Regions from separate parts of the Homo sapiens genome. Here regions 1, 2 and 3 are each linked to region 4. The links are contacts of gene promoters, found by promoter capture Hi-C in blood cells and fetal thymus (Javierre and others, 2016). All regions are on one chromosome and are shown on one strand. The core of a region is centred on a gene start or on the middle of the fragment in contact, and the rest is flanking DNA. Distances in the headings are between cores, read along the strand shown.

Region 1 (3,268 bases), core at 769-3,268, 880 kb after region 4:
CTTCCCGGCTGGAAGGTGCGGGGGAGGGGCGGAGGAGCGGCGGGGCGGGAGGGGGACGGGGCGGGCGGCTGGGGGCGGAGGCAGGACCTCCTGTACCTTCCCTCCTCGCCTCTCTCACTCTGACAGCGCCGAGGTGCGCCGAGCAGGAGCAGGGAACAAAGGAGCGGAGAGGGGAGGGGAGAGAGTTGGGCGAGGGAGAGCCCCCGGCCGGCTGCCAGAAGATCCCGGCGGGAGGAAGCCCAAGTGTCACTTGAATTCCACCCAAGGAGCGGGCGCCTGGGATCAGAGCGTCCTGTTTAGCAATAACGGCTGGAGCACGTCCTACAAGTTACGGGAGAGTCGGCTGTGAAGGAGACGTTCGCTTATCCCCTGTGTCCCCGCTCCTGGCCCCTCCAGACCCCCGCCTTGCCTCGCGCTGGGAGGGGAGATCCAGAATGAAAGGCAAGAAAGGTAAGGCGGCCGCGGGCTGCGCGCACCAGAAGACGCGAGTCCGGGGAAACGTGCTGGCCGGGCCGCGCCGCGCGGAGTCACTTGGTGGACTTTTCCGCCCAGGGGCTCTCATGCTGGAGTGGCGGCCGTGCTCTTTGTTGAGGCTGCGTCTGAAACGGCAGCGGCTGTTTTCCTGCTAGACACAACACGAGGGGCTGTTGTGGGGCGAGCCTCTCCACGCTGCTGGCACGTTGTCAAGAAACACGCTCAGCGCCTTGTTTGTGCGCCTGCAAGTTTCATTGTCTCCGCCGACACCCCACGCTCGGCCCAGCCGCCGCGTGGCTTCTCGCTCTTTCTCGCGTGCTGGGGATATGGGGTCCGAGTAGGGAGGACCCAGCCCCTCGTTTTTCCCGATCCGGACCCAGGCGGCCGGGGCCGCGGGACCGCCGCGGCTTTGTCTGAAAGTTCCACTCCTAGGCTCCCCCCGCCCCCGCCCCCGCCGCCCCCCTACTCCCAGCCGGGCCCTAGCACTGTTCTTTAGGGATGTGGTGTTTTTACGATCGAAGGAATGCGATTCTGGACCCCCTCATCGCCCTCGGGTGTAAACAGCTTTGGAAAGCTAGACTTTTACAAATCCCCAGTCTCTAAAAGTTTTCCCACGATGAATTTTGGGGCAGGAGGAAGAGTTAGCACCCAGGGCCAGCAGCTTCAAGCGGCATGCAGTCAAAATGCGTCCAAATGTGACAAGCAGGCTTGGTTGTAAGTGCAAAGAGCAAGGCTGTCATTGTTTCCACGAAGTGTTCTGGAAGCTTTACAACTAAAACTTGCCGTCAGTTTGGTTTAAAAACAAAATACACCGGAGGGGGACGGGGGGTGGAGAAACCACACAAAACACCCCGAAAGGTCAGAGTGTGAAGTCCCTTTTGAAGTTAACAAAAATTGAGTCCCTGGCTGGGAGGTCCCCCGAGTGTTCCGCTGTGGGCTGGAGGTGGCGTTTCTGTCGTGATTTATGTGGAGTGGTTCAAAACAGAAGTTAATCACTCGGGAAGCGGACGGGAGGGGCGGCGCTACTGCGCATGCCCGGGAGCCGCCTGGAGTTTGGAACTCCACATTCTTTCAGACCCGGCCCGCTGCGGGGCGTTCCTGGGGGGTAGCCTCAAGGCCAGCGGGGTTCCTTCGGCTGCGTTTCTGTGGGAGGCCCTGAAACGCGCGGAGCTTCCCTCTGCCTCCAGGCTTTCCCAGCGAGAGTGAAATTAAACTTGAAACTCGGATCAACTGGCAGTCGTTGTTGGTAGAACGCCCTAAGGACCCCTCCCCGCGGGACGGAGGGAGGACTCGGGACAGGGAATTGGCCCTGGGAGAAAACGCGCGGGGGGCGTCCGAGACGCCCCGTGAAAGCCGTGCCGACCCTTGGGAGGACTGACAGGTCTAGAGACACGCGCTGTCTGTTGTGGTGGGCCTCCCGGGAATAAGTGAGGGGCTCTGTGTTTCGAGGATGGTTCTAGCGCAGAGCCGGGTGTCTGCCGGGGTGGGCTCCCCGCATTGTTCGGGCTCCGGCGGGGGCGGCTCTGATTCCTTTCCATGGCCCGCCTCCCACCCCGGGAATCCCCAGTGCTCCTTTTCCACGGCTTTTCTGGCGTCCCCCCGACTCTCCCGCGGCACTTTGGCCTACCTTCCCCCAGCGCCGTGGTCCTCCCTGGCGACCCCCTCTGCGCTCCTGGGGTCCTCCTGCGCCCCCCCTCCTCCACCGGCGCGCTGCCCACAGCCGCGTGCCCTCTCCCCGGAGCTGGGGACCAAGGCTGGGCCCCGCCGGCCGCATCGGTGGGAACTTCCGCGGTCCCCATCCCAGGGCGCACAGGGTCCAGCTCCTCGGCGCCGACTCCTGGAAACAATGAAAGGTGACGGGCTGAAGGGGAAACTTTGCGACTGGTTCAGGGCTCTTTGGGGGAGCCGAGGCTGCCGAGGTTACCCGGGTTTCTTTCCCCTTTTAGGTTTCCCTGGCGAGTCGTCTGGGGTGGGCAGGCCTCTGAGAAGGTGGGATTCACGGCCTCATTTCTAGTTTCTTGGGTCCTGGAGTTCCTTTGCTTGTGCTAACTCGTGCAGTGTGCGGGCCGGCCTGTTTCACTTGAGGCCGAGGAACTCTCAAGAACAAAAGCTACTTGCTTTTCCTCCTTGGGCCCCTCCCTCTCCCCGTGCTCCTCCGCCGTCCTCCTCTAAAACTACCTGGGAGGGGGGAGCCTTCCCCGTCGGCTCTGGAAAGACTCCTGAGGAAGTCGGGCCCTCCTTACTGTCTTGTCTTATAAAAGTCTGCAAATCTTTTCAAGTTTTCTTAAAACAAGTGCACTTTCAGCTCCATTCCTGAGCCCGGGGTAAGCTTGGTTTGTGATAATAGTGTGTCCTCCCAGAAAGCTGAGAGTGACGCCAAAAGATCTCCTAAAATGACTTAAAAACAATGAGAAGGATCGATAAGGAAAATCCACTAAGTCTTTTTGCTCCCAGTTTTTAACTGTTGAATTCCTGCTTTGGGATTGCTCTTTGGCTGGGGTAGCCAACCATACCTTGGATTTGGTGGCTTGAGTGTTCAATGCCTGTTGCTTCTCCCAAGGAGATACTGATTTTTTTTTTCTTTTGTTCCTGGAGACCGGGTCTGGCTATGTTGCCCAGGCTGGTCTCGAACTCCTGGGCTCAAGAAATCCTCTCGCCTTGGCCTCCCAAAGTTCTGGGATTACAGGCAAGAGACATTGCTCCCAGCTCAAAGGAGAACTTCTGGTCAGGAAACTTGTTGAGTTAAATTTGCTTTTTCCTAATTGTGCATCTCGACTTTTCCCATCAATCTTAT
Region 2 (3,096 bases), core at 1-2,500, 680 kb after region 4:
GTTAACTTTGGAATACGTTAGTGGTTAATACACGGAACGTTCCCGAGATCCCTCAAGAAAGAAGCTACGAATACTTAGAAGATACTATTCCGCGGCGTTTACAGCAACACTGTCCGTTCCAGAAGGATTCAAGTGGCGGCCTGCTTTGAAGGCGAAGACCACAGGGCAACCCAAACTTCAGAAGGGTTCTGGCCACGGGAGCCACACTGGTCACTGTCCCCTAGTGCTGGGATGACGGCTCGAGTGTTAGAGGATCCCACTCTCTCCTCTGGTAGGTGAGGTCAGAGAGCTGAGGGGGCCAGAACAAGTCTTCCTTATCGGATTCTGGGCGGAAAAAGATAAAGTCGGGGAGGACTTTCTCTTTTTAATAAGATTCATCGTTACGAATTGTTCTAGGCAAGCAGACCTCAGGAGAAATAGGCCCAAGTTTTGATTCCTGTTTTCACCAAGTCGCAAGTCCTAATCGTAGCAAGAGGTGCGGGGAAGAGTCGCCTTCCTTCCTGCATAGTGGGATCCAAGTCAGGCTGTCCTTGTTAGCCAGGGTCAAAGGGGCTCTGCCAGGGAAAAACGACGGCAAATGTTTTTCAAGAGGAAGTCTCCAGCCACTTGTGACCTGGGAAATCCGTCTGGGCCAAAAAGATAGTGGAGGCTTGGCTGAGGGCCCCAGGGACACACGTTTCCTCCCGTATGGAGGGGGCGGGACTCTTAATAAAATTACACTGCACACAGAGCTAGCATCAAGATCCGCTCCCGGGATACGCGCACTGCTCCGGGGCCCTCAGGCGGAGACCCAGACCCCGCGCGGGGCGTCAAGCGCAGGCGCACTACCGCCCACAAGCTGGAGCCCGGCTTCGGGGCGGGGCGAGGGTCAGTCACGTGGGCCCGCAGCCCTCTCCTCGATTTCCCTACAAGGACTTGGGCCGACGGGCCCCGCCCTTCGCCGTGCCCTGGAATGTGCGGCCAGGCAAAGCCACAGGACGGACGCAACCATCTGCGGAAAGGATAGGGGGGAGGAAGACTTAACACTGCAACAACAGGTACAAAAAAGAAGGAAACTCAGTAACAGGACCCAGAGGACCATTATATATTGCTCTATATTCTAGGTCGCCCACTTTACACTTCCTTCTCATGCACTTGGTCAATACCACGCCCGCTGACCACACTGGCGACTTCCCTCTCTGTCGCCCCTCCGTGAAGTCAGACCCACTCTGCGGGCCAAGAAAGGTGACCGGGCTTCCTTCCGGCTTGCTAAGCAGAGGCCGGAAGCGGTGGTTTTTAGCGGCTCTCTGGGTAGCAGGGTGGTGTGATAGCGGCAGCGAGGGGCTCGGAGAGGTGCTCGGATTCTCGTAGCTGTGCCGGGTGAGTGGCGCTCGCGTTCGGGCGCGTGAGACCCATCCCGGGGACCCGTCTCCGCGGGGGCAGCTGGAGGGCGGCGGGGCTCCTGGCGCCGGTAGCGCACCTGGGCAGGTGTGCCAGCCAGGTCCCCGGTTCTGGGATCCGAGGCCATGGCTTGGAGTGGCCCAGACCCGAACTTCGCTCCTGTGCCCAAACTTGGAACTCTGGAAATGTGGCTTCGCTCACTGGCGCCTTGAGCTTGGGCGACTGCCGGGCCCGCGAAACCCGACCCCTGCAGAGCTGACTCCGGGACTATTTTAGTTTCTAACGTCAACTTGCCCGATTCAAGAGGGTTTGCGCAAAAACGTAGCCCGTTGTCCCCCTGCTGCAGCTGTTGTTGCAGCTGTGTGGCTGCGTTTAGTAGGAATAACCAACTCAAATTGGGAAGTTCTTCAGCTCAGTATCCGCTCCTGTAATTAGAACTTTTTTTCTTTAAGCGATGAAATTTTGGACAGAGAGATCTGGAGTTTAGTTTGTGACTCGAAGAAAAACTCCAAAATGTAATACCTTGTCCCATTTGGGGGGAAAGTTTGGGCTAATTCAATTCGCCATGGAAGTGTCTTCTTTTTAAAGTAGTTTAGTAGGTATATGAATGTATCTGTCAGTTCTTGAGAGACCTATGGATTTAGCAGAGATTTTAACTTAAGTGCAAAAAGTTTCATATTTAAAGGCGAATAAAGCGAATATTTCTTAAAATTATTGGTATTTGTTTCATGTTCTGGAAGGGCTCTAATAAACGGTAATCAGAAAAGCACTCTATTTTCAAAAGCGAGGCTTTACTGGCAAGTCAGCCCTCACAGCTAATTGTCTTTGTCCAGTGGTGAGAACTTTTGGGTGTGGCAGTCCAAGAGAACGAATCCTACCTTCAACCGGAAGTTTGCATAAGAAATGAAACTTGGTTTACTTGGAACGGAAGCACCAACTTGAAATACACTTTTTAAAAATTGTGGTTAGCACCAGAAAATAAGTTATACTTAGGCTTTTTTTTTTTAAGTGCATTGATTAAATGAGGCGGTATATTTGGTCAGGGTTTAGAAAGCCCACCAAATACTAGGTGCTATCACAGTACGCAGTGTTTTGTAAGATGGTGGTTTTTTCTTGCAGAATGTGTGATATTTCTCAGAATATTATCAATTTGAGTGTTCGTTTTGTAGAAGAAGTTTCTAGGTTATTTTACATTTATTGCCACTTTGTAAATAAATGCTGGACTCTAGGATTCTAACCACAGAACTCTAATGTATATATTGGTATGGATTAATCCCATTTTATAAATGAACATAGTTTCTAGAGATTCTGAAAACTTCTTGTGTCCTTTGGTGTGTGGGGAAAGCCACTTTGAGAATCTCTTCTATTTCTCCCACCTATTAATCTAGTCTAACATTTTCCTTAATCATGTTGTGTATCTCTCGTTACAGCCCACAATGATTCTGAGCTAAAACACAAAATAAAAACCAGATTCATTGCCACCAGCGCTCACCTCGCCTGACTTAAAAAAAAGGTTATGCTCCTTTAGATCTGTAAACTCAGTCTCCTAACTGCCCTTCATCCACTTTCTCATGCATCTGAAATCCTCATATTTTGTAGAAGCCTGTTCTGTAAGTCTCTCTACTTTCCAGTTTCGTACAACAGACACTCCTTGACACCAAGGATCTTTCACTTAATCCCTCAAAAATAAAGACTCGAGCTGGGTGCGGTGGCTCA
Region 3 (3,577 bases), core at 1,015-3,514, 1.0 Mb before region 4:
GAGGCTGATTTTAACTCTGCTTTTTAATCATCACCATTCTTTGAGGTCTTCAATTATAAATTTACTAAATTAAAATAATAATCACTATATCTTCTAAGTGTTATAAATAATAGGAGAATAAAAGATAAAAAGAAACACATTTATAAAGAGTTATGTGGATGCATAAACATTCATTCATTTTATCTTACTTGATCCTCCCCATTTGCCAGTGAGAGAATTAAGAATAATTGCTCCCAATTTTTATGAGGAAATTGAGATTCAGAAAGATTAAACAACTTGCCCTAAGCCACACAACTAGTAATTTAGGAAGGTATGGTGTGAGTCCAGGTCTTCTCAATGTAAGTCCTAGACTTGTTCATTATACAAGGCAATTCCCAGTTTCAGATCTGGATGACTGAGTGGATAATGATGAGAATAGCAACTGATAAGACAGGATAGCAAGAACATTTTTTAGGGAGGATATTCTGCCAAATCTTGATTTTTGGTTACTTTCTAGATTAATGAGGCAGAGTAGGGACCCCTCTTAAAGGCCTTGTGGACCCCATCAATCATAAAAATAAAGGAAACTTATTGAGTTCCTTCGAGGGAAATTCCAGTCACCCAGTACGCCCTGAGAAGAAAATGAGCAACCTGATAAGGAAGAAGGTAGAAATAGCTTAAAACAATAGCCAAGGAAGTTTGAGTCACAAAATGTTTGGTTCCCGTAGAAACTAAAGATAATATATTAACATATGTCCCTGAGTTGTTTTTCAAACACCTGGACCCCCACCAAATGAAAAACGCTGTCCACTGGCACGGAGACTTCAGATAAGGGGGAACTGTGGTCAGAACTCTGGCCACTGTTCTTTTTTCTAAATTTCTTCCTGAGGGGCCTGGACTAAGTCATGTACACAGGCCAGAGCTCAACATTCCTTTCTGCTGACCCCAAGTTTTCGATAAAGCTTTGCTCTCTTAACCAATCACAAATCAGAGAATCTTTGTATATCCACCTGTGGCCTGTAAGTCCCTGCTTCAAGATGGCCTGCCTTTTAGGCAAACTAATGTATAGCCTTCATGCATTGCCTATAACCAACCTCCCTGCCTTTAAAAACTCTTAACATGTACGCCATTGGAGAGTTCAGAGTCTTAAGTGTTAACTTCCTAATTCCCCATGCTTCACTTTATCTTGCTGCAAATCCTGATATTATTGTTCAGTTTTGCTGCACTGAGCAGGCAGACCCAAGTTCGGTTTTGCAACATTAATAATTGATGTAATTAGTTACTCTTCATTCTTTTATACTCCTGTAGAATTTCTTCAAAGCTCAGTTACAGTCCTTGTCATTCATACTTCATTGTATAGTTCTTTCTAACCACAAGTTCGTTCCTTACAGCTCATCTCATTGTATCTGTCATTGTTCTTACTAAAATCCTCTGCACATAGTGGGTAATTGGTAAATGCTTGATGAAGGAATTGGATTTATAGCTCTAGATAACAGATTTACAATAACACATTAAATAAGTAAATGTAAGACTAATAGGTTTACATTAAATTTAATAATGCAAGGTCTTTATAAACTTGGTTACAGAAAAACTGACTTAAATTTTGTAAGAAAGCTATCAATAAAGGGGGGAAAGGGGGGCTTTTAAATGTCATAACATGTCCATTAAGTAAAGTTTACAGGTGCTTCAGTAGCATGGGTCTGTTTTTGAGCCACAGCCAATGTAATTAGCAGGTGAGATTCCAGACCTCCAATTGTCAAGGGATTTAGTATAAGCTCAATAAGCAGGTGTGAAGAAGGCAATAATCAAAGGTGAGAAAATGAGAAAGTATATGCAAAGATTCAGTTCCACATATCCTTTTATCATTGATAATAGTAATGAGGTATGAAGCCATTGCAGATAGAATTGTCTTAATATGATCAGAGTGAGCTCACATCACTCAGCACCCTATGGACAGGGTAGTAGAGAGGTGAAAAGAGGTTCTTCCCTGATCACAGGCTGTCTTTTTACTGTCAGTAGCCTCTGACCCGACAGAATAATTAGCTTCTATTGTGTTAACCTGTGTTAGCCAGCAAGTAGAAGCGCAGACTATTGCAGCTATAGAGAGTTTTTTTTCTAACCCAATAACATACTCTTTGGACTGAGACCTTCCTTCAGCAGCTGTTGTAAAGATAATCAAGGCATCTCGCAGCAATACCTTCTTAAAAAAATTGTCTGTCAAGGCTAAATTTTATGTTCTTTCATACTGTAACTGGAAGAGAATTTACTATTTTTCAGACTACTATATCATTCCCAAAGCAGCAGAGGATTGTATAAATGTGTGGTATAAATTATAAAAGTGGAAAGAAAAACATTAATAACAGATATGGTAGATATGAAGTCTTTTCATAAATAAATATTTTGACCGTTGGGTGTTTACTGGCTAAAGAAAATATGGATTAGACCATTGACAAGCACTCTGTTTATTAGCTCTTGAGCATCAAAAATTACAAATGATGTTGCTTTATTAGTTTATTATAATTACTGTGTTCTCTTATCCAAGGAAGGCTAGTAGCACATAAGGATTTCTCAGCTAAAACACATAGTTTTGAGAATGAATTGATTTCCCTGAGCCTTACTTAGGGCCTTGACATTTCCAGCTTTTCATTGTCCATTGTTTAAGTTTTGTGGATACTCAATCTGTTTTCCATTACAAAGATCTGTTTTGTCTTTACTGTGTAATCATATCTATGACTATTTCTCTATTAAAAACATTCCATTAGTTTCTATATAAGTTTATTTATGGATCCCAGTTCCTATCCTGAAGCAATAGAAGGCGTTTTTTGCTTATCCAGTAAAAATGATAGGTATTGACTATTTTAGGGGCTAAAAATAAGAGTGTTGCAGGATTAAGAAAATGCCTTCAAGTACCACATATATACTATCAAAGTCGATCTGATATTTAAATCCTTACGAATGCAGAAAGAACTCTTTTGGACAAATCAGTTGTCTTCAGCATCCTATCTATATTTGTAAATAAAGTTTTATTGAAACACAATCATGTCCATTCCTATGGTCAGTGGCTGTTTTTGCTCTATAGTGGCAGAGCTGAGTAGTTGTGACAGACTTCTGTGGTGACCTTATAGCCCACAAAGCCTAAAATATATAAGATCTGCCCTTTTACACAAAATATTTGACAACTCCTAGGTATTGGAAGTTGTCTGGTAGTCCTTGCTGTCCTCAATTGTGAAAAGATGACCAACTACCACACACACACACACACACACACACACACACACACACACACACACACACACTTTCATTTAGGAAACACACTACATGGGAAGCAAGTATCAAACAAGAGCAGAGAGTAACTGCCTTCCTTTCTGTGTAGGCCTATATTTCTAGAGTAAGTATGGTACCAAATGTACCTAAAATATATGTTTGTGTTGTTTTATGTACTACTTTAGAGCTTAGTTCTTCCACATAATCATTTAATTTTATTATAATAGCCTCATAAAGTAGATAATGCAGACCTTATTGTACTGACTTTCCTTATAAAGAAAGTAAAGTTTTAATGTAGAACTTCATTAAGTACCCAGCAAATAAATTTAATGAA
Region 4 (3,177 bases), core at 132-2,631:
AATTGAAGTTTTAAACAGGGCTCACATGTGATCATCCTTCCATCTATTGGAGTCTAGCTTGAAATGTGACAACCGGAACCAAAAGAACCTTGAATTTGGTGCCTACTTTGGTTTTGGTGCTGCTGCTTCTCAAGATCCTCAGCAGGGATTAAGAAGTTGGGGTGCACAGCAGGAATATCAGGAAATTGGCAGGCTTGACTTCCTGGCAAATTGCTAGCAGGACCACTAAATGCTGAACTGTACTGTGAATGTATACCGAAATACAAGCAATTATTTCTGTACTAAAGGTGTTTTTAATTTTGTATTTGTGTAAAACCACCTTTGGAAGCAGCAACTATCTAGTCAGAAAAGCAAATGATGTTTCCATTAATCTTTTCTGGGGAAAACATTAGTGCTAAGGATTTAACAATCTGTAGGTAAAGTTTAACCTAACAGTATTCCACAAGGAGACTTTTTATTATCAGACGGTTGCCTAATTTTCATATAATTTTTATATTAATATAATCCTTGGTTCCTCCCCATCCCCTTCATAGGCCACAGCTGAGGTGAAAAGGGTCCTGGAATGGCTAGTGAGAGCTAGAAATTCAGACGGGAAAATTGAAACTCAGAGCAGAAAGGCAAGCTGCCCAAAAATAACAACGCTAGTTAATGGCACAATTGCTACCAGACCCAAGTATCCAGACTTCCTGGAGCTGTGAGATCTTTCATCACCACCACTCTCCAGGTACCGGGCAGTGCCTGTTTCTGGATTCAAACTCACAGCAGCGAGGAAATCCTATTTTAGCAAAGTGATCTACTGTTACTGTTGTTAGTGCACCCCTCTCCTGCGTCTCTGCTTCACATCCACTCCCTCGCCGCCCGCCCCCAAACACTTGGATTCTTCCTAGCCTCTCACAGGTCAGCCACCACCAGAGGACCGTGAGCCTCCGGCAAGTGATCAAATACTGAGCCCGAATTTCGGCAGCCGTACCAACGCAATCCTGGGAGCCCATTCCACCCACTCCGCAGCCCCTCTCCCACCTCACCTCTTCCCTTGTCAGAAAAGCGGACGCCGCCTTCCCAGACTCTCCTCATGAAAACAGCACCCATCTAAATAGTGATCATGAAAAATGCCCCTTCCAGTCCACAGAGAAAAAGCTTTCTCCTTTTCTAAGAGTCCATGGGCGCCGCCATGTTGCTGTACGGAAAAACGTTTCCAGGGCGAGTTGAGCGTTCAGGGCACTCCTCGGCGCTCAAGCTGCCCACAGGTCTTCCGACCTAACTTTAGGGGTCGTGCCAGTCTTCGTAGAGACGGCCACACTGGCCCACAGACCCCAGTTCCTGGGGTGACGCAGCTGGGCGCGACCAGCACGCAGCCTTCCAGCGACGAGGCGGTCGCATGGAAGTTACTGCGCGCGTCGTGCGTAATGACGTCAGCGCCGGCGGAGAATTTCAAATTCGAACGGCTTTGGCGGGCCGAGGAAGGACCTGGTGTTTTGATGACCGCTGTCCTGTCTAGCAGATACTTGCACGGTTTACAGAAATTCGGTCCCTGGGTCGTGTCAGGAAACTGGAAAAAAGGTGACTGAATGACATCGGATTAACTTTGTTTCTGCAGAGCTGTTCTGGAGGAAGAAAGTGATGGCGCCAATGACTTAAATTTAGAGGTCCTGAGGCGATGTTTTGGTGTTTGTTTGCTGTTGGGAGAAGCCTCGAGGCCAAAACTGTGCGAGGCGCTGGTTTCACGGGATCTATTAAATTTCTAGTGGCAACGATTTCCCAAGGAGGAAAGGGGAGGGCCTGGGGGACACTGATGAGGAGTGGAGGCTCGGGAGAGGAAACGGGGAAGAATTGAAGGGGGCGGAAAGAGATGGACAAGAGAGGACTCGTTGGGTGGGTTGCGTCTGAATACTAGTGTAGCTTCTTATGGCCGTGTAGGACTGCGTGTAGAAGTCTTCATCTTAAATCATGAGAGCTACATTCTAAGTGGAGATTAAACGTGGACACACAGGTGTGAGTGGAAAAGTTGAATAGATGAACAAGCGCATATTGAAGAGGAAATAGGCGGCCAAAATCAAGAAGAGTCTAATCAGTGTAAAAGACTAAGGAGTACCCAGAGAAGTAAAAGGATTGTCACCTTCCTGAAAGCCAGGGCAGGACCTGAGAAGGCTGGGTGCAGAGATGAGACAGGATCAAAAGTTTTGTCAATCATGTGTATCCTAGGAGACAAATTTTTTAGCAGATGTGAAGGGAGTGACCTGTTAATGTGGTTTGTAAATGGAGGCAGCCTATAGACCATTTTATGGACCGGATGATTTATCCTTGTTGAAGGGGAGATTGATGCCAAAAGGGCAGTAATTGAGGAAACAATGGGTTAAGGACAGAGCAGGAGAGATTGACATTAGGAAAACAGAATAATTCCATTCTCTGAAACCAAAGAAAAGGAAACATTTTGAGGTGAATAAGAGAATTTGAGGTAATTTTTTTGTCTTCCTATTGAAATAGGCACAGCCAACAGCAGTAATGTGGTCTGGGTAACAGACAGGGCTTTAGCTACCACGGATACCCTTGTGAAGGCAAAAACCGTAACTTACTCGTCTTTGCATCTCCTGCATTGCCTAGCACACTCCCCTATATATATAGTGGGCAGTTAATAAATGTTTATGTTGAATATTTTTAAATGGAATTAAATAGATGTTCCTTGCAAATGAGAACTTCAGTGTACATGAACAAAAAAGAGATACCCCAGGGGAAAGATGATGATCTTGAAGAAACAATGAAACCTGACTGTCTTTCTGTTTAAGGATAAATAGTTGCTTAATGTACCATCTCTGTCTGGAAAGTTTTTTTTAAATACTGAATTCGTGAATGTAGGTCATAAGCATGAAGCGCAGTTCAGTTTCCAGCGGTGGTGCTGGCCGCCTCTCCATGCAGGAGTTAAGATCCCAGGATGTAAATAAACAAGGCCTCTATACCCCTCAAACGTGAGTATTTCCCTTGTGGTTCTAATTTGCATGCTTTATCATCTTAGGCAAAGAAATCATAAGAAATAGTTAATATAAAGATGTAATATGAGTGATGTCTTGGTGAATCTTGTCTGTTCCCAGGGGTACCTAATTTTGGATCAATGAAATCTAAAAGTGGGCATGATACTCTGCTAGGTGTTGTTTGTGTCATTTGTTTCACAAATTTCCAAAG

What was found. Contacts are between HindIII fragments. The CHiCAGO score rates a contact against its expected background, and 5 or more counts as called.
Region 1: a contact is called between a fragment that was not itself captured here and the fragment with the promoter of METTL4 in region 4, in 2 of 17 cell types (fetal thymus and naive CD4 T cells). The highest score is 10.9, in fetal thymus.
Region 2: a contact is called between the fragment with the promoter of MYL12A here and the fragment with the promoter of METTL4 in region 4, in 2 of 17 cell types (fetal thymus and naive CD4 T cells). The highest score is 8.7, in fetal thymus.
Region 3: a contact is called between a fragment that was not itself captured here and the fragment with the promoter of METTL4 in region 4, in 1 of 17 cell types (M0 macrophages). The highest score is 6.7, in M0 macrophages.

The regions. Positions count from the first base shown.
Region 1 is chr18:3,450,056-3,453,323 of GRCh38, forward strand. It overlaps TGIF1 (TGFB induced factor homeobox 1), which reads left to right and starts at 117. Exons shown (of 3, transcript NM_003244.4): 1 at 117-450. The coding sequence starts at 435. LOC124904237 (a long non-coding RNA gene) reads right to left here and starts at 601. Exons shown (of 2, transcript XR_007066269.1): 1 at 477-601. RefSeq lists silencers at 7-166, 807-856 and enhancers at 1,434-2,055, 2,056-2,677, 2,678-3,268. The HindIII fragment of the contact is 1,565 bases long and covers 1,237-2,801 here.
Region 2 is chr18:3,246,551-3,249,646 of GRCh38, forward strand. It overlaps MYL12A (myosin light chain 12A), which reads left to right and starts at 1,251. Exons shown (of 4, transcript NM_006471.4): 1 at 1,251-1,359. It also overlaps a transcript of MYOM1 not described here. RefSeq lists enhancers at 958-1,187, 2,320-2,389 and a silencer at 1,478-1,557. The HindIII fragment of the contact is 13,247 bases long and covers 1-3,096 here.
Region 3 is chr18:1,573,211-1,576,787 of GRCh38, forward strand. No RefSeq gene overlaps it. Among named protein-coding and RNA genes, the nearest start is that of LINC00470, 220 kb to the left of the region's middle. The HindIII fragment of the contact is 2,651 bases long and covers 940-3,577 here.
Region 4 is chr18:2,570,124-2,573,300 of GRCh38, forward strand. It overlaps METTL4 (methyltransferase 4, N6-adenosine), which reads right to left and starts at 1,382. Exons shown (of 9, transcript NM_022840.5): 1 at 1,026-1,382. NDC80 (NDC80 kinetochore complex component) reads left to right here and starts at 1,434. Exons shown (of 17, transcript NM_006101.3): 1 at 1,434-1,560; 2 at 2,854-2,963. The coding sequence starts at 2,863. RefSeq lists enhancers at 475-1,397, 1,280-1,439. The HindIII fragment of the contact is 2,186 bases long and covers 1,136-3,177 here.